7 separate regions of the Homo sapiens genome follow, and all the other regions are linked to region 5. Evidence: promoter capture Hi-C in 16 types of primary human blood cells and fetal thymus (Javierre and others, 2016). All regions are on one chromosome and are shown on one strand. Each heading gives the region's core, a stretch centred on a gene start or on the middle of the fragment in contact. The rest is flanking DNA. Distances are from core to core; before and after follow the strand shown. Region 1 overlaps ACADM (acyl-CoA dehydrogenase medium chain). Region 2 overlaps SLC35D1 (solute carrier family 35 member D1). Region 3 overlaps MSH4 (mutS homolog 4). Region 4 overlaps MIER1 (MIER1 transcriptional regulator). Region 5 holds the start of ZRANB2 (zinc finger RANBP2-type containing 2). Region 6 overlaps PDE4B (phosphodiesterase 4B). Region 7 has its middle 1.5 kb from the start of ST6GALNAC3.

Region 1 (3,026 bases), core at 1-2,500, 4.7 Mb before region 5:
CACTAATTAAACAAGCATCAAAAGTTCCAAGTCCAAGACCTCCTACAGTATCAAAATGTTTCAACACATTGTAATATGTAGTACATCACAATAGAAATAAAGGTAAACTATTTTAATTGCTTTCAATATGACCAAAATTTGTTTTAAAAGGAAATTTGCAATATAATATCTACATGTGTTCTGGCTGGCACAATAAGAAATTATACTTTCTTAAAGCTCTAAAATTTTCAAAAAATTATTTTACTATTTGTAATTTGAACCTGTATTCCTGTTCTAACTTGATTTTGTTAAAACTCAATTCAACTCTAAAACTGGGTCTGAGGAAAAGAATCATGGTTCACAAAAAAGACTCAATAAAATGTAATATAGAAGATAGGAATAAAACACAACAAATTGACCAACTCTAGAAACGGAAGTTACCAAGGTTTAGGTGCAAGTTAAGGTTGGAACCAGTTAGAAGAAGGAAAAACGCATCTAGGTATAGAGTGCAAGCTTCCAAAAGTGGGCAAACACTGTAGTCTGAGCAGGAAGACAAAGGTAGAAAGTCATTTAATGGCAAGAAATATTTGAAAAAAATGACTGAGTAGAGTTCCACAATTTTTCTTACTCATATGCATTCCAGTATTAAAAATATAAAGAAAGCTTACCACAGTTCTCTGGAATGTGTGTGTTCATTAAACCAAGTTCCCAGGCTCTTCTAATTAGGGGGACTGGATACTAGAAGAAAAAGAACTGAGTTAAAATATATTTTGAAATCCAGATAGTTTGATTACATAATCTTGTAAAAAATGTAAAAGATTTTTCCCTCTTTAAAATGTATATACCTACTTCACCAGTTTTATCATATTCTGCAGCCACTGGGATGATTTCCTCTCTGGCAAATTTACGAGCAGTAGCTTGAAATTCTTTCTGCTGTTCGGTGAACTCTAAGGGAAAATTATTTAGAAAAGTTAAAACTGGATAACAAGGAAAAATGTCCTATGAAGTCAGTATGTAGAAATGTGTATTTATTGTGGGGACTTAAATCCTTGATTATCAGAAACTCAGACTACAGTGCATTTTTTGACTAATCAAGAGTTCACTACACAATATAAATAAACCTATGTCAATACAAATGCTAAAGGAAATAGGTAAGATTTTTAACTTTTACAAATGAGTAATAGATATTAACCTGTAGAGCTCAAGTGAGTTTTTCTTTTCCAATTGGTGATATAAAAAACGTTTAACTTATTATTAGTTCCTAAGCCAATTTATCAAATGTTTGCTAACACTGAAGTGAAACTAATATACAAGACATCTCCCTGACGACAAGAATCAATCTAACGAAATAGATGAAACACACTCAGTGACATAAAGCAATAAAACTTATTTCAAAGTGTCATATAAGAATATCAATATCATAATTTTGCTTTTTTTTTTTGAGACAGTCTCATTTTGTCACTCAGGCTGGAGTGCAGTGGTGCAATTACGACTCACTGTAGCCTCGACCTCCTGGCCTTAAATGATCTTCCCACCACAGCTTCTCAACTAGCTGGGATCACAGGCACATGCCACCATATCTGGCTAATTTTTGTAATTTTTGTAGATACAGGGTTTTGCCATGTTGCCCAAATGGGTCTAGAACTCCTGGGCTCAAATGATTCTCCCATCTTGGCCTCCCAAAGTGCTGGGAGCCACCTCACCCTATCTATTTCATTTTTTTTGTTTTCACAGAGACAGGGTCTCACTATGATGCCAGGCTGGTCTTGAACTCGTGGCCTCAAGCAATCCTCCTGCCGTGGTCTCCTAAAGTGCTGGGATTACAAGCATGAGACACCATGCCTAGGCTTACAGCTCCTTTAAACTCAGACAAGCTTATAAATTAGCACAAAGCAACTGGTAAAAGTGGTAGAAAGGTTTTTCAAAAGATAATAACATAAAATCCTGCTGCAATGCTAATAAATGGTGTCCAACAATTTGTTTACATAAAATAAGGGATTGTTTTAAAATTAATGAAATTAGTATGGTGGCTTGATTGAGGAGAGGAGTCAATTGCTAACTGCATCTTTTCAAATCCATGGTATCCTTGTGTTTTAATGTGGTTGCATCTAACGTCAAAGATTAGGTAAAATTTAAGAGATAATAGGGTATTTCAAGCAAGAAAAATGAGAGCAAATGCACAGAGGAATGTTTAAGACTACAGTAATCATTTGTATGGGGATGTGAGAAACAATACATAAAAGCTGAATTCTGGTGCTGAATTGAAGAGCATAAGATCAAATCTCTTTTTTTTTTTTTTTTTTTTTTTTTTTGAGACGGAGTCTCGCTCTGTCGCCCAGACTGGAGTGCAGTGGCGCAATCTAGGCTCACTGCAAGCTCCGCCTCCCGGGTTCACGCCATTCTCCTGTCTCAGCCTCCTGAGCAGCTGGGACTACAGGTGCCTGCCACCGCGCCCGGCTAATTTTTTTTTTTGTATTTTTAGTAGAGACGGGGTTTCACCAGGATCTCGATCTTCTGACCTCGTGATCCGCCCACCTCGGCCTCCCAAAGTGCTGGGATTACAGGCCCGAGCCACTGCGCCCAGCCAAATCTCTCTTTTTATTGATAAACTAATGCAGAGTAAGGAAATTCTAGTATCAGTCTCACAATGAATTAGCAGAAGTATACTTAAGAATTTCAGTCCAGTGTTCTCTCTATCACAGCTTTACTTCTAAGATTGGTGCCAGTTGATAGCAATCTTGCAGGTAGATAGAGGGTAGAGAAAGTCTGGGCACGGTAGCTCATGCCTATAATTCTAGAATTTTGGGAGGCTGAGGCAGGTGAACCATTTGAGGCCAGGAGTTTGGGGCCAGCCTGAGCAATATAGCAAGATCCTGTCTCAACAAAACATTTAAAAATTTAAAAAATCAGCTAGGTGTGGTTGACATGGACCTATTGTCCTAACTGCTCAGGAAGCTGAGGCGAGAGAATCCATGGAGCCCCAGAGGTCAAGGTTGCATCCAGCTTGGGTGACAGAGTGAAACCCTGTCTCTTAAAAAAAAAAAAAA
Region 2 (2,808 bases), core at 106-2,605, 4.0 Mb after region 5:
CCACAATAGTGAAGATATATACTAGGCTTCTGGGATTTCAGTTCTTTAGTATAGTTCATAAATATTTTAGGCAACTTCCACACAGCAAAATTAGAGGGTAGGCACAAGAACTTTTGCAGTTTTTCTTTTAATGTGAAGTAAGGTAACATCAGCTAGAACCCTGATAAAAATATTATTAATATCTTACACATGGCATGTAACTGTAGAGGCAACATACTTATTTTCAGAAAGAAGCAATAGCTCTCCTCTCCATGGTAACACTGTCTTTCCCTCTAACCTCCCGGTTTCTGGCTTCTGCTCTTATTGTAGTGTACATATCGGTTGTGTGTGGTATTAAAATGACACAAATAGAGAAAACATTTAACAGAAACCCCATGGCTTCACCACTACCACACAAGCTAAAACCCTGGCATTGTAAAATAGAATGGAGAGATTTTTGAGCATCAAGGACAAGGTGTTTTTCATTTCTTCCTTTAAAACCCGAGAAACCTGACAGAATGACCGAGATGATATCTCTGAAGAGGGTTCCAAGGAAGTCAGATTTATCATGGGTGGGACATTTTTTTCCATTTCATTACCCACCAGGAAAGAAATGCAGGCCTTCTGCAAAGTGCTGCTTGTGTAGAGTTTGCTTTTTTTCATCCATCTCATCCAACCATTCATTCACACCTATCTTTGATTGCCAGCTAAGTATAAGGCACTTTGGAGTGAGATAAGATATATTCAGAAATAACTATATTGCAAGAGGCTGTATGTTTGATTAGTACAAGCAAAATGCTCTGGGAATTTAGATGAAGACAAAATTACATCCACAAAAGGACAGTCAAGGCATTTCATGGGGTAAGATTTTCATAGATGGTTTTTGGGTGGTCTAGGGGGTGGGAAGGGAGGTCAGACTAGTGAAAAAATGAGAAGGAAGCCTTTTTCTATTAAAAACTGACATATTTACAGCTTAGGGTTTTGCATAATTAGAATAAAGTTTTGTAGTTAATTTAATGTTTCTCACTTCTAGTAGTTTTTTAAAAGCAACTGTTGTAGGCTTTCAAGTAGGAATTGCTTCTAGAGAGAAGCAGGGGTTTAACCATAAATTAATTTGTATGGAATTTCCATAATGGAAGAATAGCATTATTTTAACTACCAATTTGGAAAATCTTAGTTTAAAACAAATTGTTAAATTCTATTTTACCTAATTATCTTTTTTTTTTCCAGCTTGCCAATGTTTACAGTTCTGAGAAGGTTCTCCATCCTGTTTACAATGTTTGCTGAAGGAGTTTTACTCAAGTGAGCTAAGTTTCTAATATATCTGTTCTTTAAATCACCTTGAAAAGGTGCCCAGCATATGTGAGATATTAAATTATTTGTCTTGTTCCTACCTTACCTTTTGAGAAGTTTAAGCAACCCTCTCTCTTGGCTGCTGGAATTGATAGTTTGTGGGAGTGGTAGTTGGGAAGGTTATGAATTAGAGTTGAAAATCTTATCTGAACGTGAGATTTACTTTCTAGAATTTCTGTACTACTGCCACCGGGAGAAGCTGGATCAGAATCATAGGTATAGGTTTTAAATAGTGTTCATGTCTAGCTCCAAATGAATGTGACATTTTTCTGTTAAAGAAATTCTGCTTCACAAAAATTCAAACTCACTAATAATGACAATAGGTGAAAATTTTAAAAGTGGGTGTAATAACTTATATAACAATAAATTTTTGCTTTATCAAAGGGGTTCTTTTAAATATCAGTTTCTCAGAAATGTTTAAAATACGATTGTTTATAGCTTTTGAGAAAGCATATCCCATTTTTTGCTTCTGTTGTAAAATGAGTGTGGGAATAAAGTCATGTGTGTATTTTAAAATTTTTTGTTTTGTAGGAAGACTTTTTCTTGGGGTATTAAAATGACTGTATTTGCAATGATTATTGGAGCCTTTGTAGCTGCCAGGTAAGATGTGGGCCTATGACTAGCACATTATAAATTGTCAATAATTATTGATAATAAATGATTGCTTATCAATAACAATTTTTTATTGCCTAAATAAGAATTATATCTTTGAAAAGCATCTAGAAGACTCTTGAAAAGGTTAAATCTTTTTGGCTGTATTAAGATAAAGGTTGACAAAAATAAGATTCTTGGGATTGTTAAAATTTAAATTGATGTAATTTAGAATTTGTTACTGTCGTTGTGCTGAGCACATAGCATGTGCCACACAATATGTTTGGCATTTTACACATCTTATTATGTATTCTTCACAACACCTCTGAGAGGTATGGGTATAATTTTCCTATTTTATAGTTGAAGAAACTAAAACTTAAGTTCAATAACTTACTTAAGGTCACAGAGCTAATGGCAGAGCTGAAATTTGAATCTGTGGCTTTCTTCAGAGCCTGTGTGTTTTTATAAACCATGTGGCATTTCTTTTTTTTTTTTTTGAGACGGAGTCTTGCTCTGTCGCCCAGGCTGGAGTCCAGTAGTGGGCTCTCGGCTCACTGCAAGCTCCGCCTCCCAGGTTTACGCCATTCTCCTGCCTCAGCCTCCCGAGTAGCTGGGACTACAGGTGTCTGCCACCACACCCAGCTAATTTTTTGTATTCTTAGTAGACACGGAGTTTCACCATGTTAGCCAGGATGGTCTCGATCTCCTGACCTCGTGATCCGCCTGCCTTGGCCTCCCAAAGTGCTGGGATTACAGGCGTGAGCCACCGCGCCTGGCCTGGCGTTCCTTAATTTTGCATGCTGCTAAAGAAAAGCATGTCTCCTCTTCTGTGAGGTGAGGAAAATGACTATGAAACATTTGCTTGCCTTTTCGAATAATGAACAA
Region 3 (2,818 bases), core at 66-2,565, 4.7 Mb before region 5:
AATATTCTATCAGACAATGTAGCTCCAGGTCACTATATCTATCTCTTGGGCATAAACCTTTAGGTATCTTCCCAGCATTCTAAATGTCCAAAAGTGAACTCTATCTTTCCCTCAAAATTAATTCTTTATTACCAGTATGGTTAATTGTACCAGCTTGTCCCTTGTCACTCAAGTCATAAGCTTAGGAGACATTCTCAATTCTTCCTTCATCAACCCTAACACTCAGTGACTGAGTGCTAGAATTCTTTTTTTTTAACATCACTAAAATTTAAATCCCTCTCTACTCCTCCCAGCCCATTTTAAGCCTGTATCTTCTTTGGTCCTTGTGCAAGTTTCCTACTTCTTCTTCTCCTTGCTTCCAGTATTACACCTCTCTAATCTATTCTTCGAATCATCACCAATAATCTTTCTGAAAAGCAAATCTGATCAGTATCTCTCTTTCTTACAATTCCTATGTGTCTCCCCATACTCACCATAGGGTAAAATATAACTTCATTATATGGGTTCCAGCAGGAATCAATGATATACTCAAACTGGGATAATTTGATAAAGAGAATATTTACAAAGGTGTGGACAGGGTGTAGGGGTGCTATCATAAAGACGTGTGTAGAACCAGCATAAAATGTGCTCCATTAGCATTTCTAGGCTTTAGGGAGCTAAGGAAGAGAGTGGTTGCCAGAAACTGGAGATGCGGAAACTGGAGATGGAGAGGGCTGTTTCTTGTTCTCAGACTACTTTTAGACTATATACCCTTTCTTGAAACTCATTCACTTGTCTTAATTCTCCTCCTACTTCCTTGACCTCTATTTTGCTATATAGTCTTCATATTCTCTGCTGTGGTCCCAACATACTGGTAACTTTCAAATCCATATTTCCCTCAAGTTTCTCTCTTCTTAGCTCTAGTTTCCTATATTCAATTATCTTAATATAAATATATGGATATCCCACAGGCTTTTCACACTCAGCATGTCCATAACAGAGCTCATCATCTTCCCTCTAAAATTTGCTTTGCCTACAAAATTCCCAGAATCAGAAAATACTACTACCATCTATCCAGTCACCAAAACCAGAGACCTGGTGTTGAATATGGGGGGTCTCTGGGTTAAATTTGTCTCCCAGATCTAATTCTCACAACTATATCTACATTCAAGTTTATCTACCTAGATCACTCTCCTGCTCTAGCCAAGCAAAATTATTAGCAGTTTTACATGATTCTTCTGTGCCTTTGCACGTGTTTTTCTCAAGAATGCGCTCCAGCTGTTTCCCTTTGGCTGGCATTCTTCTTCCTACTTATTCTTGAAGACCAGTTCAAGGTGCACTTACTCTGTGAAATGTCTTTTCCCACTTTTGTCCCCATACTTTAATTATACCTACCTCAAAAATTATAAATACCTCAAATACAGTTATTTCTTAAATGTGTATTTGTTGATTTTTAAGTCTGTCTTCTCTACTGAACCTTAAGTTCATTGAGAGCACAGATTATTATCCCCAGCTGCTAACATAATTTGAACCTTTGTTCGCCTATTTGGGCCTTGGTTCTATCTGTAAAACAGGAACAAAAAAAAAATCTACTCTGCAAAATTATTGTGAGGATCAAAGATACCGTCTGCCTAGTAAGAAGCCAGAACAAAGTAGGTGCATATAAATTAGTGAATGTTATCATTACTGATAAATAAGTGGGTGACCAAGCATCTGATGAAGAGAGGGATTAGACTGACAATGTGAACATTCATGTTGCTTTAAAGGAATTGCAAGTAGCTCAGTTTTGTTAGAAAGCAGGGTAAATATTAAATGATGAGGGATAAATCTGTAAAGATTAGAAACCGATCCCAATTGCTTTGGCTATCCTTCTAGAGAGTTTGATCTTTTACCTGCAGATACAGGTCTACTGATTTAAGTGGCAAGGGACATGATAAGATCATTTTCCACATAACTCTGGTGGTACAGTAAGTAAGCTACAAGGATGGAAGAACACTTAAGAGTTTGAGGGCTAGGTGCAGTGGCTCACACCTGTAATCCCAGCATTTTGGGAGGCTGAGGTAGGAGGATCGCTTGAGCCTAGAAGTTCGAGACCAGGCTGGGCAACGTAGGAAAACACTGTCTCTACAAAAAAATTTTTTAAATTAGCCATCTGTAGGGGCACATGCCTTGGTCCCAGCTACTCGGGAGGCTGAGGTGGGAGGATCGCTTGAGCCCAGGAATTTGAGGCTGCAGTGAGTCATGACCATGCCACTGCACTCCAGCCTGGGCAACAGAGCAAGACTCTGTCTCAAAAAAAAAAAAAAAGTGCAGAGAGGAATTTAATTAATCATATAGTCAGCCTGAGGTATCCATTAGTCCATCAATAAAAACTTCAGAAGACAGTCTGAAGTAAGTCTGGAGTGTAGATGAGATCTGAGCTGTGGAGATAGTCACATCTAGGTAGAAGTGGCCTAGGAAAAAAAGCTTTAATGACATGCCCATAATTTGGGAACAAAGGTGGGCACAGCAATTCTCTGGGAGGTAGCAGAAAAACAGGGGCAAGTGGAATCAAGGAAGCCAAATTAAAAGAGTTTAAGAGAAGACCAGTCAAGAACATTAAACATAGGCCAGGCAGCAGTGGCTCATGCCTGTAATCCCAATGCTTGGGCAGACCGAGGCAGGAGCACTTGAGACCAGGAGTTTGAGACCAGCATGGGCAGCATAGCGAGACTCTGTTTCTAAAAATAAAGAAATTAAGAACATTAAATACAGCAGAAAGGTCACATGAGATGAACTGAAAAATGACCATTGGATTTGGTATTTGTTACTTTACCATTGTGTTGCAATCGTGTGTGAA
Region 4 (3,110 bases), core at 38-2,537, 4.2 Mb after region 5:
GAGCAAAAATTAATGGAAGGGGTTATGATAGGCAGTCCGCCATCCTCATGTCATTTGCGTTTTCTCACACACTTCTGTCATGCCGGTAGCAACACAGTTATGTACTGAATTTTGCACAACTAGACAAAATTTAAAATACTGAAAATTGACTGTTTTATGGATATCATCTATTTAGTAGCATGGAGGGAGAACCTACTTATTTGCAATGCCTGAAATGCCTGTAACTTGAAAGTTTATTTTAATGTATTGGCCTACAGCTGCCAATTGGCCGTGATGCCAATGCTGATGATGGCCAGAACCAATGATTTCAAAGTAACTAACATGTTTCACTTCCATTATACTAAGGCACATACTGAATAACACAAAGGTGACATTAAAACAGTCACTAACATATTTTACTAAACCAGTTTGAAAGTCTTTATTTCAAAAGACTGGGATTTTTTTCCTAATCTTCAAGGGTTCCTCTTAATGCAGTTTCAAAAGTGGCTACCAAAATCAACCATTTAAATACGAGAATTATTCATTCCTTCCAAATAATGTGAACCAATACTACATTGCATAAATGTGTACATATACAATTTTTCTTAAAGTTAATACTTAACTTATAATGCAATATAGGGGAGGCTATTAAATTATTTATATTCCCTTAAAATTCTAGACTCTATCAAGCATTTTCCTATTTCCAAAGATTCAATGTTAATTTGAAACTGTTATGTCCAATAATAATCTGTGCATGAATAAACTGCATTTACAGATATATGAAGTAGCTGCTAAGTGAAAGGACATTACCTGGTAATTTGACAGGAAAAGAGTCCACAGACAGTCTGTAAACCAATTAAACATAAACATCTGATGCACATTTTCTACTGAAAGAAAAGCAAGGGAAAGAAGAGAAAGGAAAACTTTAAGGTTCCCAAATCTACAAACAATTTTTACCATTAACTGTACTGTACAGTATTTTCATTTTATTTTTTAGAAAACTTATATAAAAGTGTTTTTCAGGATTCCTTGGGGGAATAAATATTTTAGCAGAGGTATATAGTTTCTAATAGTTACCCTGTTGAATTATGTCAATCCTCTGGACTTGAAATAAAAATGACTTTTTAAAAGTGTCAGTTCATATCCAAATAGTTTTCAATCAATACACTTAATGAAAAGAGCTGAAGGCAAAGAACAATGGATATACATGGACCTGAGGTGGGTACAGACACAATTAGGGGCCTAGAGGTACAAACTCAGGCTTTATACCATGGAGATGAAGGAGGGTTTTCCATTAACATATGAAAGCTAATTTATGAAATTTGGCTACCAAAGGAAAATTAAAAGTGTTACAATACAAGGTACAGAAATAACTTGCTTAAGTACACTGAATCTTTGATTCTTCAGTTAAACTACCAACAGAAATCCCAACTATGATAAAGAGCAGGGGATCATAGTCTATTAACCTACTGAATGAATCCTAAACTTGTCAGGAAAATGGAAGTCTGAAACATTTCTGAATGGGTATCTATCTTACTGTTAAATAACTCTTTAAGTTTATTAATATTGTGTATCAATATTACTAGTTTTAAATGGTATTATTATTATTGAGGGAAAAAAACTCTCTACATTTTTCCCCTTCCCCTTTTTATAAATGTGGATTCAGTGGGTTTTTTAGGTTCAGATATTATAAAAAAGAAACAGCTCTAATACTGCAATTCATAGGTAACACATTACCACTGAATTCAGTATCCTTCCACTATTATTTTATTTTAGTGATACACCTAACTGTAAAATTTTCAGGAGCCACCTTACGGAATGAAAAGTCTTTCTCAAAACGCTTACTTACCCTCTTCAGTATTAAATATATAAAAATTAACTATTCACTAGTTATAGAATTTTAGTGTTGGATGGGACCTTAGAGATCTTTTAGTCAATTCTCTACCCTGTCAAGATAGTAATCTCTCATCATGCTTCTACTACCAGGCTTTCTGCCTATGTTTAAACCCCTCCAGTGACTCACTATATCTCATAAAAAGGCTGCTCTTTTCAAAAAAAGTTCAAATGTTTAAAACATTCTTTCTTTTATTATGCCAGAATCTACCTCCTTGTTGTTTCCATCCATTACCCTTAGTTCTTCAGCACTTTGGATTAATTCAACAGATATCTTCTTTGTATCCAAATGCAAACAGTTAATATTTATACTTGGGTTAACAAAAAAAAATTTATTTTTAAAGCCTATTCATACTAGAAGAGTTGAAAATAGGACATGAGAGAGCTAAAGGCATAAGAAAATGCACCATTAATTGTGTCTGCTTAAAATTATTACACTTTGTTATTTATTAATGTGATATCCAAAACAGTAGTTCTGTTGGAATTGTGTATAAAATTTTTAAACTAAAAAAGTGTGCTGAATTCCAATTTTATGTGAGGTTTGTGATTAATGTCCCAAAACAAAAAACCACTATACAAAGCCTGAATAAATGCCTCTTCAGCTCCTATTCCCCACCTAAAAGCCTCCTTATTTTCAGGCAAAGTAACATTAATTTTTATGACATTAAGCTACTCAAAACTGCTATTATATTGATAAATCATTTGTAAGCAATTTACTGAATCTTCCATTCAAAAGTTATTGAACAATTCTATAGAGGCTATAAGGCGCACGCACACACAAACCCCTCAGTTATTATTATGCTTTTAACAAAAGCATTTAGGAGCACAATCTTACTTCAACCAGTACCTTAAACGAACCAATGAACAAACTTCTTTGGCAATTTACATATACCTAAGAAATATAACCTTTTATTCAGTACCAACACCTGATTCAAATACAAGTAACATATATATATATACTATATAAACCTATCTGTTATGCAATCCAAAAAGGTACCTCTCAAAATGCACCAAGAAAATACTGTACTTATAACAATTTAGACTCTGGGGTTAGCTGACTGAAATAGATTAATACAACACATCCAAAACTAAAAAATTCTATATCTAACAATTTTCAGCGTCCATGAGTCTCTTTTGAGATTAGTTTATAAACTATTTCCTGAAATTTTTATTTAAAAGCAACAGCCTACACCATGTCTTTATGATGTGGTGGTAAAATTTTATGGATAATTACTAAT
Region 5 (3,031 bases), core at 377-2,876:
TAAGATTACAATACCATATTTTTACTGTACCTTTATATTTAGATACACAAATACCACTGCGTTACAACTGCCTACAGTATTTAGTACAATAAGATGTACTAAATGCAGGTTTGTAGTCTAGGAGCAATAGGCTATACCATATAGCCTAGGTGTGTAGTAGGCTATACCTGCTAGGCCTGTGTAAGCACATTCTATGATGTTCACACAACAGCACAATTGCCGAAAGTGGCATTTCTCAGAACATATCCCTATCATTAAGTGAGGCATGACTGTATATGCTGTATTCTAAAAAAAATTAATGCATTTATATACCAGAATCTATGCATAAGAATGCTCATACTGGTGTTGTTTGTAATACCAAGCCTGAGAAACAGAAGGAATAAACTGTCACAAAACCACAAAACGGAATAGTATCAGTATACATCAGTGCAAATAAAAGAATTACACCTATACACTTCTACATGCAACTACCTAGGATTAATTTAGAAGCATAATGAACAAAAAAAGAGTACAGAATCAACTATGCTTACACAGCTCATAAAATTAAACATACATGTATGTTAGGTTTTGAAGGGAAGGCAAGGATTAAAGAAAGAGAGGGTGGCTTAACAACAAATACAGGATTTATGTCCAGCATAAGACCTACAGAGGTGGGAGACCAGCTTAATGCCAGTGCCCGTTGCTTCTTACAGGCTGGGGTGATTTATAGGCCTGGGTGGGAGTGGTCTGGGGGGCCATGGCCTGCTTCCTGGGAACATGTTGATAAGGTGTTCCCAGGACGAGGCGGCTCTGGCCCTTGTTCCAGTGGAATGTGGTACTTTCTCCCAGCAGAGTATAAGAGGCAGCCTGTTTCTCACGCCCGAACCCCGTGGAATGTTTCACTTTGACTAAGGTCTGCAAAATGGCAGGGGGGCTTACAAAAATGGTGCAGTTTGGACTAACAACGTACATAAATTTTTAAAAAGCAAAAGAATAAATCCCAAATATGGGAAAGTGTTATCTGTGGAAGAAAGTAATGGGATGGTATCAGAAAAGACACTGGTAATTTAAACAGTGTTGACAATGTCTCAGTTTTAAAATTACCAGCTGGTTCCCATGTATAAGTTGCTTACTTATCTGTTACACCTATTTATGTATATATAAAAATAGGTTTCCAAACGACATCCCATGTGTATGAAATAACAGAATTTTTATGCCTTATTAAAATAATTTCTCTAAACACTTGAAGAGCCCGAGCCGCCTCTTACCCTAAACGAACCCCACGCCCCTGAATTGATCAGTCACTTCCGCCTCCACCTTTCCAGCTCCACCTAAGGAAGCGGAAGTACTTTACTCTTGGGTCCTCCCACCTGTAGGGGGCTCTCCGAGGCTTCTAGTGCCACGAAGGCCTCCTGCCTGGGTTGTCCTTATGGCGCCTGTGAGTTTAGTTCTAGAAAAGATATTTGTATTTTAACTTTTCCATCTAACAAACAGTAGCACAGGCATCTTAGTCTGGACAACAACGTACAAGCTGAATTCCTGGCTAGTTCCCTCATTATCAAACCCTGACACAGTAGTAGGCGCGAGTCAGGCAGTGTGGGGACAGCCCCGAGTTGCCGAAAGTCCCCGGCCCGTTTTCCTCCTGTGAAGACATAGCTGCGGGTGGCTGTGCTGGTGGCGTTCAAGATGTCGACCAAGAATTTCCGAGTCAGTGACGGGGACTGGATTTGCCCTGACAAAAAGTGAGTTCAAGAAGGGTCCTGAATTGGGACGGAGTTTGTTAGTGGAAGCTTTCCGAGGTCCGTCCGGCATTTTCCTTTTTTATGATTTTCTGTGCCTTAAGACGGGTTGAGGCGGCGAACCGCCAGTTCCCTGGCGGGAAGAAGGCTCCCAATCTCCTCACGAGAGAGGTCTTTCCGGGAGCCTTTGTTCTAGATATGTCTTCAGCGTTTCCTCGACATTACCTCCGCAAGGTAGCCTCTCTTTTTAGAGTGCGAGATGGCCTACCTTTTTGCCCCCACCCCCCTCCCCCGCCCCGGCCAGGTTTTAGCGATAGGAAACCTCTCCAGTCAGGCCAGCTTGGTGTTGGATCTCCCCCACGTGACTTTTCTCTGCAGAACTTTACTCTTGTTCACGGAAAATATTGCTTTCTCGCACTCGTCCTTTTGCCTCTTATAGTTCACCTTGTTTTGTATTTTTACTCAAACTTTTCCTCCATACTATTTTCCCCTTTTCCGGAAGCTCTACCCTCTTCGGTTTGGGAAATTCTGACATTTTCTTTGTGGATCATTTCTCCACAAGAATTGGGCTTTTCGCCTCCTTAGAGCCGAAAAGGAGGGAAGAGGCCTGTGTTTTTGCCTACTCAGCCCTTAAGATGCCTGCAGCAGAGAAGCACGTGTGTTAGTGGCTCTGCTTTTTGACATTGTTGCCAAAGCCAGTACTCGACTAGATAGTTAATCAGATTTTTTTTGAAGGGTGCACAAATAGGTGTATCTATTCGGAAATAACATGGAAAATAATTTAATGTACAACTCATGTTCACATAAAAGCCTTTTATTTGTTGTACCTAAGTTAGCCACAAATAGGTTTTGATTGTAAAAAGCAAAAACTTTGAAATAAACCTGGGTTTAGTTAAAATTCTATTACTTATTTAACTGCTAAAAAAGGAATAGAATTTTTTTTTTAATGAAAACATGAAATAACATGGATAGGGTGTGTAAACAGTGACGTGTAGCAAATTCTAATTGGTGGCTATTGATAGTAATTTGATATTAAGATGACCTGAAGGAGTAGTTCAAGCCTAACAAATGATACTGAATAGAACCAAAGTTATATGTTATGGATAGTATTGCTCTGAGTGGTAAGACATTATTGAAAACGTTCAAAAGATTTAGAACAACAACTTCTGACTTTGTTGTTACCTGTAAAATAATGTGCTTTTGTCAGTGTCTTTAATGACAGCACACCCAGAGGTAGGACTCTCAATGAGAGTTCATTTCAACTCATTTACAAATATATGAATAGAATGTTGTTTGTACAATATGTTTAAATG
Region 6 (2,809 bases), core at 1-2,500, 4.7 Mb after region 5:
TCCTCTGAGCCGCAGCCAGCAAGCCTTGATCCAAAGGTGGTACTTTTACCCCAGGAAAGCTGGAGAAGGGACACACACTCACTGGTGCACCTCAGGGCTGGAAAGGGCATGCTGGCAGGTGTGGAGCAAAATATCTTCTCAGCCCCAGAAACGTAGACAACAAGATGATACTTCAGGCTAGAATGACTGGGACTCTGAAATGTGCACCTATGAGGGTATGGTGTAAGGCTTTTTAACAAAGTGTATGTGTGTGTGTGTGTGTGTACACACACATATATAACTTTGTATAACTTTATAGCAATATGTATTTAATATAATATTCTCCAAGGTAAAAATACAAACAAAAAGCAACAACTCTCACTACATAAATTAGCATTCTAAGTCCAGGTGTTAATTAAACAAATGATATAATGATAGATAATTAAGGCTCTTCAACATTAAGCTTTGTCTGGGGATTGTAAATAAAACCATTTTGGGGGCAGTATGCATGAAGCAATTTCAAATGATTTCACTATGAAAATCAGCAAACTTAAAGAAAACCTCTGGTTTTGGAGACAAAGCATATTGTTTCTTTTTTATCTTAGGTCATGCCAGCATCGCAAAAGAAATCTTAGAAAATCCCAGGATATCCTTCTTTTTAGAGGGAATTTATCAAACTTCAACACAGACCATTCTTTCCCATTGATATATGAAGGTTAAACTACTTTCTTGTTTAAAAATAAATATGTGACACCTGATTGCAATGCAACAAGACTAACTCAGATTTTAGCTTCCTGATAATTGTAAAAAAATTTTAAAGCACTTTCAATGTTATATTGATTTGGAAGCTTTACAGACAGACATCTCTCACCTTAAACCTATTCCAAACTGCATCAGTAAGAGAGAAGTTTTGTTTCTGGAAATTGAAGCGTACTGAGGATTTTAAACTTTTGCTGTAGCATCAAGACACAAGTAGAGTGTGACACTTTGGAAGAGAATCTTCTAGACAAAGCAACAAACATATTCTTAGAGTTGGTAGCATTCCCTGGTGCACTCTGCTGCAGACAGGGGTGAGGGGAGCTGGAGCTCCCTGCATGATCACACTTTAATGAATAAAAAGATCATCTCTTACCTTGTTAGAAGCCATCTCACTGACAGACCGGTAGGTCTGTATGGTCTCTAGCTGGTCTAAACACCAGTCTAATTCCTCCAGCGTTTCCATTGCTAATTTTTGATAAGATTCTTCTGCAAACAAACACACAGGCATGTAGTTAGGCTGGAGCGGCTGCAGGCTGTCCATAGCAGAGTCACCGCTACCACCGCTGATTCCGGTGCTACTGAAGGTGCCCCCGTGCTCCTTCATTATTTGCACGCTGGCTCCTTCCTTCCAGCTCTCTCCACCAGGAGAACAAATCACAGTGGTGCTCTGCCTGGGATGGCTGGTGCCAAGTTTCCCCCCAACCCCCCGCCTGGATGAGGTGTCGGTGATCTACCAAGAAACTTCCTCTGAGGAAGAAGGCGGAGGGAACGGTCTCTTATAAGCTCATCTGCATAAATGTGTCCTAAAACTAAAGGCAGAAGCACCAAAGAGTTTTCTCAGACTCTCTCTGCCTTAGTCATCCCAGGGTTCTTTAGGGTATGTGATGTCATTTCTGAGTGCTTTGCCATCTCAAGGAGAAATGAGGAAAGCTTTTTCTCATTTTGCTTTTCTTCTAAATGAAACAGTCAAAATTCGGGTGAAAACTGGTTGACCATTACGTTCAAAGTCTAGGCAGTCATTCATCCTGAGGATTGTGTTCATGTTGGAATAACTTCTAATTCAGCGAACACTGACCCGCACAAGTAAGAGGCATAGGCTATTCCTTTCTCTCCCTTAAATCTTTCCTTTAATTAGAGGGAAAATGAGGTCTCCCTGATAAGACTCCAGTCTAAAAGAAGCTGTCTGGAGTTTTACGTGAACACGTTTATTGGCCTGGGAGTCCTGCAGCTCTTGTTATACTAAACAAAGCTAAAACTTCCCTTCTGCAAGTGCCAGGATCACAGGGAAATTCTGAACCGGACTTTCAGGTGGAGCCAGATGTGAACACTCTGCAGATTTTTATTTTGATTAAAGCTGGGGGCTCCAATTTGTTGCCCTAAGACTCTAGACTTTCTGGAAATATTGTTGGTATTTCACACAAAAAATATTGTTGTGAAAATCACATTTTTTTGCTAGATAATTAAAATTCTTTTTACATATCCTTAACATGTCATTTTATATCCAAAAGTTTGTGAATCTAAACAAATACTTCAGGTTACTGGCTTAAGAAATCTATCTTAATAAGCACTGAAATAACTTTATAAATGCTAGATGAATTAATGAAGCTACAGAGAGTTGTAAAAAGCACTTGGACTCTCCTATATACACGACTGTTTTTGAGAGAAATAGCATTTATAAACTCTACCAAGATTTCTGAAATACAAACACACAATAGGCACTAATAAAATGTAAAATCTCACATGGAGTTCTAATATAACATTCCTGCCATATTTAAAAGACATTTTTATACATTTATACAGAAATTCTAGCAAGACCACATGGTTTTTAAAAATTATTATATGAATAATCTTATGTCTGTGGTGTGCAAATACTTGAAGCAGAAAAGAGAATCAACAGAACTGTGATTCCAAGTAACTGGAATCACTTGGCCACAGACGCATATTTCAAAGAATAGTTGCTTTGTTTATCCCCGAAATATTCATACACTTCAAGATAAACAGGGGTTAAATTCAATATCCTGTATGTCATGCTTAAAAAGCCACAAAACCACTGGAGGTAACTTCCTCCATT
Region 7 (2,754 bases), core at 120-2,619, 5.0 Mb before region 5:
TCAGTGCCTGCTACTTCTTTCTCTTGTTTTCTTCTGTGAACCTTTCGCGGCTCGACGTGCGCAGAGTGCGCTCTGCAGCAGGCGGGGACCTGGGTCCCGCGGGGGGCAGAGTACGGCCTTTTCTTCTCGGTTCCGTCTCCTCTCACACATCAGAGAACTCCTTTTTACAGACGTTTCACACTTTGTCAAAGTTGAGTGGGTTTGGCATCGCCCTTCTGGAGACTTTGGGCACATCAAAGGGCTTTTCAAAAGTAGCAACGAAGTTCTCCCTGGGCTGTTCAAGGATTGAGCCTTCACTCTGTGATGGGCTTATCTAAAATTAATAATTTACCGCTAATAAGTGAGCACAAATATCAACGAAAGAAAGACGTCATGAACCTTACACTCTGTATGGTATATTTTGTGTGTGTGTACATATTTTACATATACATGTATGTGTGTATAATATATAAATTATTGCCTTTTCCTGGTACAAGCTTGTTTATGAAATTGTATATGCATGATATACAGTATACAGATACAGGATGCACACATGTGTATATTGTATTATATATGTACATGTTGATTGTACAGTATATGTTTATAAACTGTGTATGTGTACATGATAGGACTTTGCTCTTCCCTGCTCCAAGCAAGAGCCGGCTAAGAGAAGCAGTTATTTCTACAAGGAGAGTAAACGCATTGCAGAAGGGAGAGAGCATTCCGTGTACACACACAGATTTTTACCACTTGGTCTGTCAGAAAAATTTTAAAAGCGGCCCCCAAATATCTACCCAAAAGAAGTTTCACTTGCTAGAAGCTCCGTCTAGTTTGCCTCCATGGAATCAGGAAAAGCACTGTGGGCTGGTGGTGTCATGAGATTGGCTCACAAACCACAAGGCAGAATCCAGGCTTTCAAGGAATTTGGTATTTTCTTGATGAGAACATGCAGAATTCTTAGAGAGCAGGAGTAACCACAGGAAGGAGGTTGCAGAAGCTGAGCCTGTGGATGAACTGCCTGTCCCATGGGAAGCTCCTGTCTTCAGTCTCCCTGGAATACCACACCCTGCTCTTCGACTTCTTCCTCCCGCCCCTCCCTCCTCTGCCTTACAGATCCGGTGTGTTTTTAGTAAGAATTCTTTGTTTGGGACTATATACTTTAAACCGCTGCTTTAGCTCATGGTCCTTCATAGGCCAGGAAAATTCAGTATTTCATTCATTTACTCATCCCTTGATTGATTCCACAAACTTTTTTATTGAGCCACTACTAAATGGAAGAATAAACTTTATTCACCTTCCACTAAGTGGAGGAAAAATCTTTATTGAAGACCTTTCAGGGATAGGAGAATGACTTTCAGAATATCTAACATCAAGGTGGGCTCACAGTTAAGTGAGAAAGACAAGAATAAGAGATACATGATACTATAACATGGAAAGGGCCTTAGCCAAATTGGAAGCAAAGATCTCAGGAAGGAGAAAGAGAAACACCTGACCGTCCCCCAGCCCGACACCCGTAAAGGGTCTGTGCTGAGGAATATTAGTAAAAAAGGAAGGCCTCTTGCGGTTAAGAGGAAGGCCTCCGTCTCCTGCATGTCCCTGGCAGAACAGCAGAGCAAAGGGGTGAGGGTGGGCAGAGCACATCGTTCTCTCTAGAAAGTCTGTACATCTGGAAAGAGAAACAGCAGGCCCTAGTGAACAGCCCTGCTAAGTACTTCCCTGCTGGGTGTCCTTGATCAAGTTTCTTAACCTCTCTTTAATCCTTACCTTATCTAATATTATCTATCCTCAAGAGAATTAAATGAGATAATAATGTTTGCAAATTGCATTTACCTCAATTTCTGGCACTATGAGCACTTTTTATATGATAGCTCTTTATGTAAAGAAAAAAATCTTCCGCTAAAGACAGACTTGTGGGAGAAGATGAATAGGATAATTGCCATCAGCCTTGGGTGTCTCAGGAGGATGAACACCAACGGAGCAAACTTTTAACATGTTATGACTTGGGTATGCCGTGATGAGGCCTTTACTAATTCCCTCAATCTACTTGGATATGGCTTTCTCAATTACATTTCTATCCACCCATGTCCATACTTCCCAAGGTGTTATTTTTTTTATTAACATCCAAAAGTTATGTCAAACAGCTAGAAATAAAGGCACATTTATAACAATCTAAAAACAAACTCAAGTTCTAGAATAAATCTGGACTGGAAGATTTACAAAACAGTATTAACAATCACTGTTTTAGATGGACCACTCGATGTCTGGGGGTGGGGGGGAAGCTTTTGGATGGAAATAAAAACAGGTTTTGAACCTACCAGGGAATGGAGATAGCCAGATTTGTTGGGGCTGGGAGGATAGGAGTGTGTTGCCAGGATTTTTTTGTTTTAAAACTGGCCAAACTACAGGAACAGCTTAGTCAAATCCATAGGTGTAGCATAATTTTCCAGCTCTAACATTATGTGACTTAAAGCCAAGAGTTTCTATTTCCAAAAATAATAATAACAAAATGGAGCATCCTGCAATTAAAGAAAGTATCTCATTTGATCCTCACAACATCCACATGGATGTTATCATCCCCAGCTGGTAACTAGGGGAACAGGGGTTTGAATCTAGGGACTTGTGGGTTTGCCATCTTAACTGCTACATTCAGCTGTCCAGTATGTTAGAAGCCCAATTTCTGTCATTTGTCACTCTTCACATTTCATCTGTTGTCTTAGTGTAGCCATAGGAAAACTTAGGGTAAGTATGAATCCTCCCCGGGATACAGACTAGGAT

The links. Contacts are between HindIII fragments. The CHiCAGO score rates a contact against its expected background, and 5 or more counts as called.
Region 1: a fragment that was not itself captured here is called in contact with the fragment with the promoter of ZRANB2 in region 5 in 4 of 17 cell types (total B cells, total CD8 T cells, total CD4 T cells and 1 more); the score reaches 11.9 in total B cells.
Region 2: a fragment that was not itself captured here is called in contact with the fragment with the promoter of ZRANB2 in region 5 in 1 of 17 cell types (naive CD8 T cells); the score reaches 5.2 in naive CD8 T cells.
Region 3: a fragment that was not itself captured here is called in contact with the fragment with the promoter of ZRANB2 in region 5 in 3 of 17 cell types (naive CD8 T cells, total CD8 T cells and non-activated CD4 T cells); the score reaches 5.5 in naive CD8 T cells.
Region 4: a contact is called between a fragment that was not itself captured here and the fragment with the promoter of ZRANB2 in region 5, in 5 of 17 cell types (total B cells, naive CD8 T cells, total CD4 T cells and 2 more). The highest score is 11.1, in total B cells.
Region 6: a contact is called between a fragment that was not itself captured here and the fragment with the promoter of ZRANB2 in region 5, in 1 of 17 cell types (naive CD8 T cells). The highest score is 10.4, in naive CD8 T cells.
Region 7: a contact is called between a fragment that was not itself captured here and the fragment with the promoter of ZRANB2 in region 5, in 5 of 17 cell types (non-activated CD4 T cells, total B cells, naive CD8 T cells and 2 more). The highest score is 10.4, in non-activated CD4 T cells.

What each region holds. Positions count from the first base shown.
Region 1 is chr1:75,730,544-75,733,569 of GRCh38, reverse strand. It overlaps ACADM (acyl-CoA dehydrogenase medium chain), which reads right to left. Exons shown (of 12, transcript NM_000016.6): 3 at 829-926; 4 at 648-717; 5 at 1-42. Among named protein-coding and RNA genes, the nearest start is that of ACADM, 7.3 kb to the right of the region's middle. The HindIII fragment of the contact is 1,211 bases long and covers 645-1,855 here.
Region 2 is chr1:67,048,906-67,051,713 of GRCh38, reverse strand. It overlaps SLC35D1 (solute carrier family 35 member D1), which reads left to right. Exons shown (of 12, transcript NM_015139.3): 5 at 1,210-1,281; 6 at 1,864-1,932. Among named protein-coding and RNA genes, the nearest start is that of SLC35D1, 3.8 kb to the left of the region's middle. The HindIII fragment of the contact is 3,063 bases long and covers 1-2,808 here.
Region 3 is chr1:75,798,028-75,800,845 of GRCh38, reverse strand. All of the region lies in intron 1 of MSH4 (mutS homolog 4), which reads right to left. Among named protein-coding and RNA genes, the nearest start is that of MSH4, 2.6 kb to the right of the region's middle. The HindIII fragment of the contact is 2,265 bases long and covers 183-2,447 here.
Region 4 is chr1:66,926,643-66,929,752 of GRCh38, reverse strand. All of the region lies in intron 2 of MIER1 (MIER1 transcriptional regulator), which reads right to left. Among named protein-coding and RNA genes, the nearest start is that of MIER1, 3.2 kb to the right of the region's middle. The HindIII fragment of the contact is 5,334 bases long and covers 1-3,110 here.
Region 5 is chr1:71,079,630-71,082,660 of GRCh38, reverse strand. ZRANB2 (zinc finger RANBP2-type containing 2) reads left to right here and starts at 1,626. Exons shown (of 10, transcript NM_203350.3): 1 at 1,626-1,721. The coding sequence starts at 1,666. It overlaps ZRANB2-DT (ZRANB2 divergent transcript), which reads right to left and starts at 1,337. Exons shown (of 4, transcript NR_046217.1): 1 at 1,248-1,337. RefSeq lists an enhancer at 1,387-1,676. The HindIII fragment of the contact is 3,322 bases long and covers 1-1,771 here.
Region 6 is chr1:66,330,923-66,333,731 of GRCh38, reverse strand. PDE4B (phosphodiesterase 4B) reads right to left here. Exons shown (of 17, transcript NM_002600.4): 8 at 1,112-1,224. Among named protein-coding and RNA genes, the nearest start is that of SGIP1, 200 kb to the left of the region's middle. RefSeq lists enhancers at 80-129, 160-219. The HindIII fragment of the contact is 841 bases long and covers 830-1,670 here.
Region 7 is chr1:76,071,844-76,074,597 of GRCh38, reverse strand. No RefSeq gene overlaps it. Among named protein-coding and RNA genes, the nearest start is that of ST6GALNAC3, 1.5 kb to the left of the region's middle. RefSeq lists a silencer at 1-51. The HindIII fragment of the contact is 1,782 bases long and covers 479-2,260 here.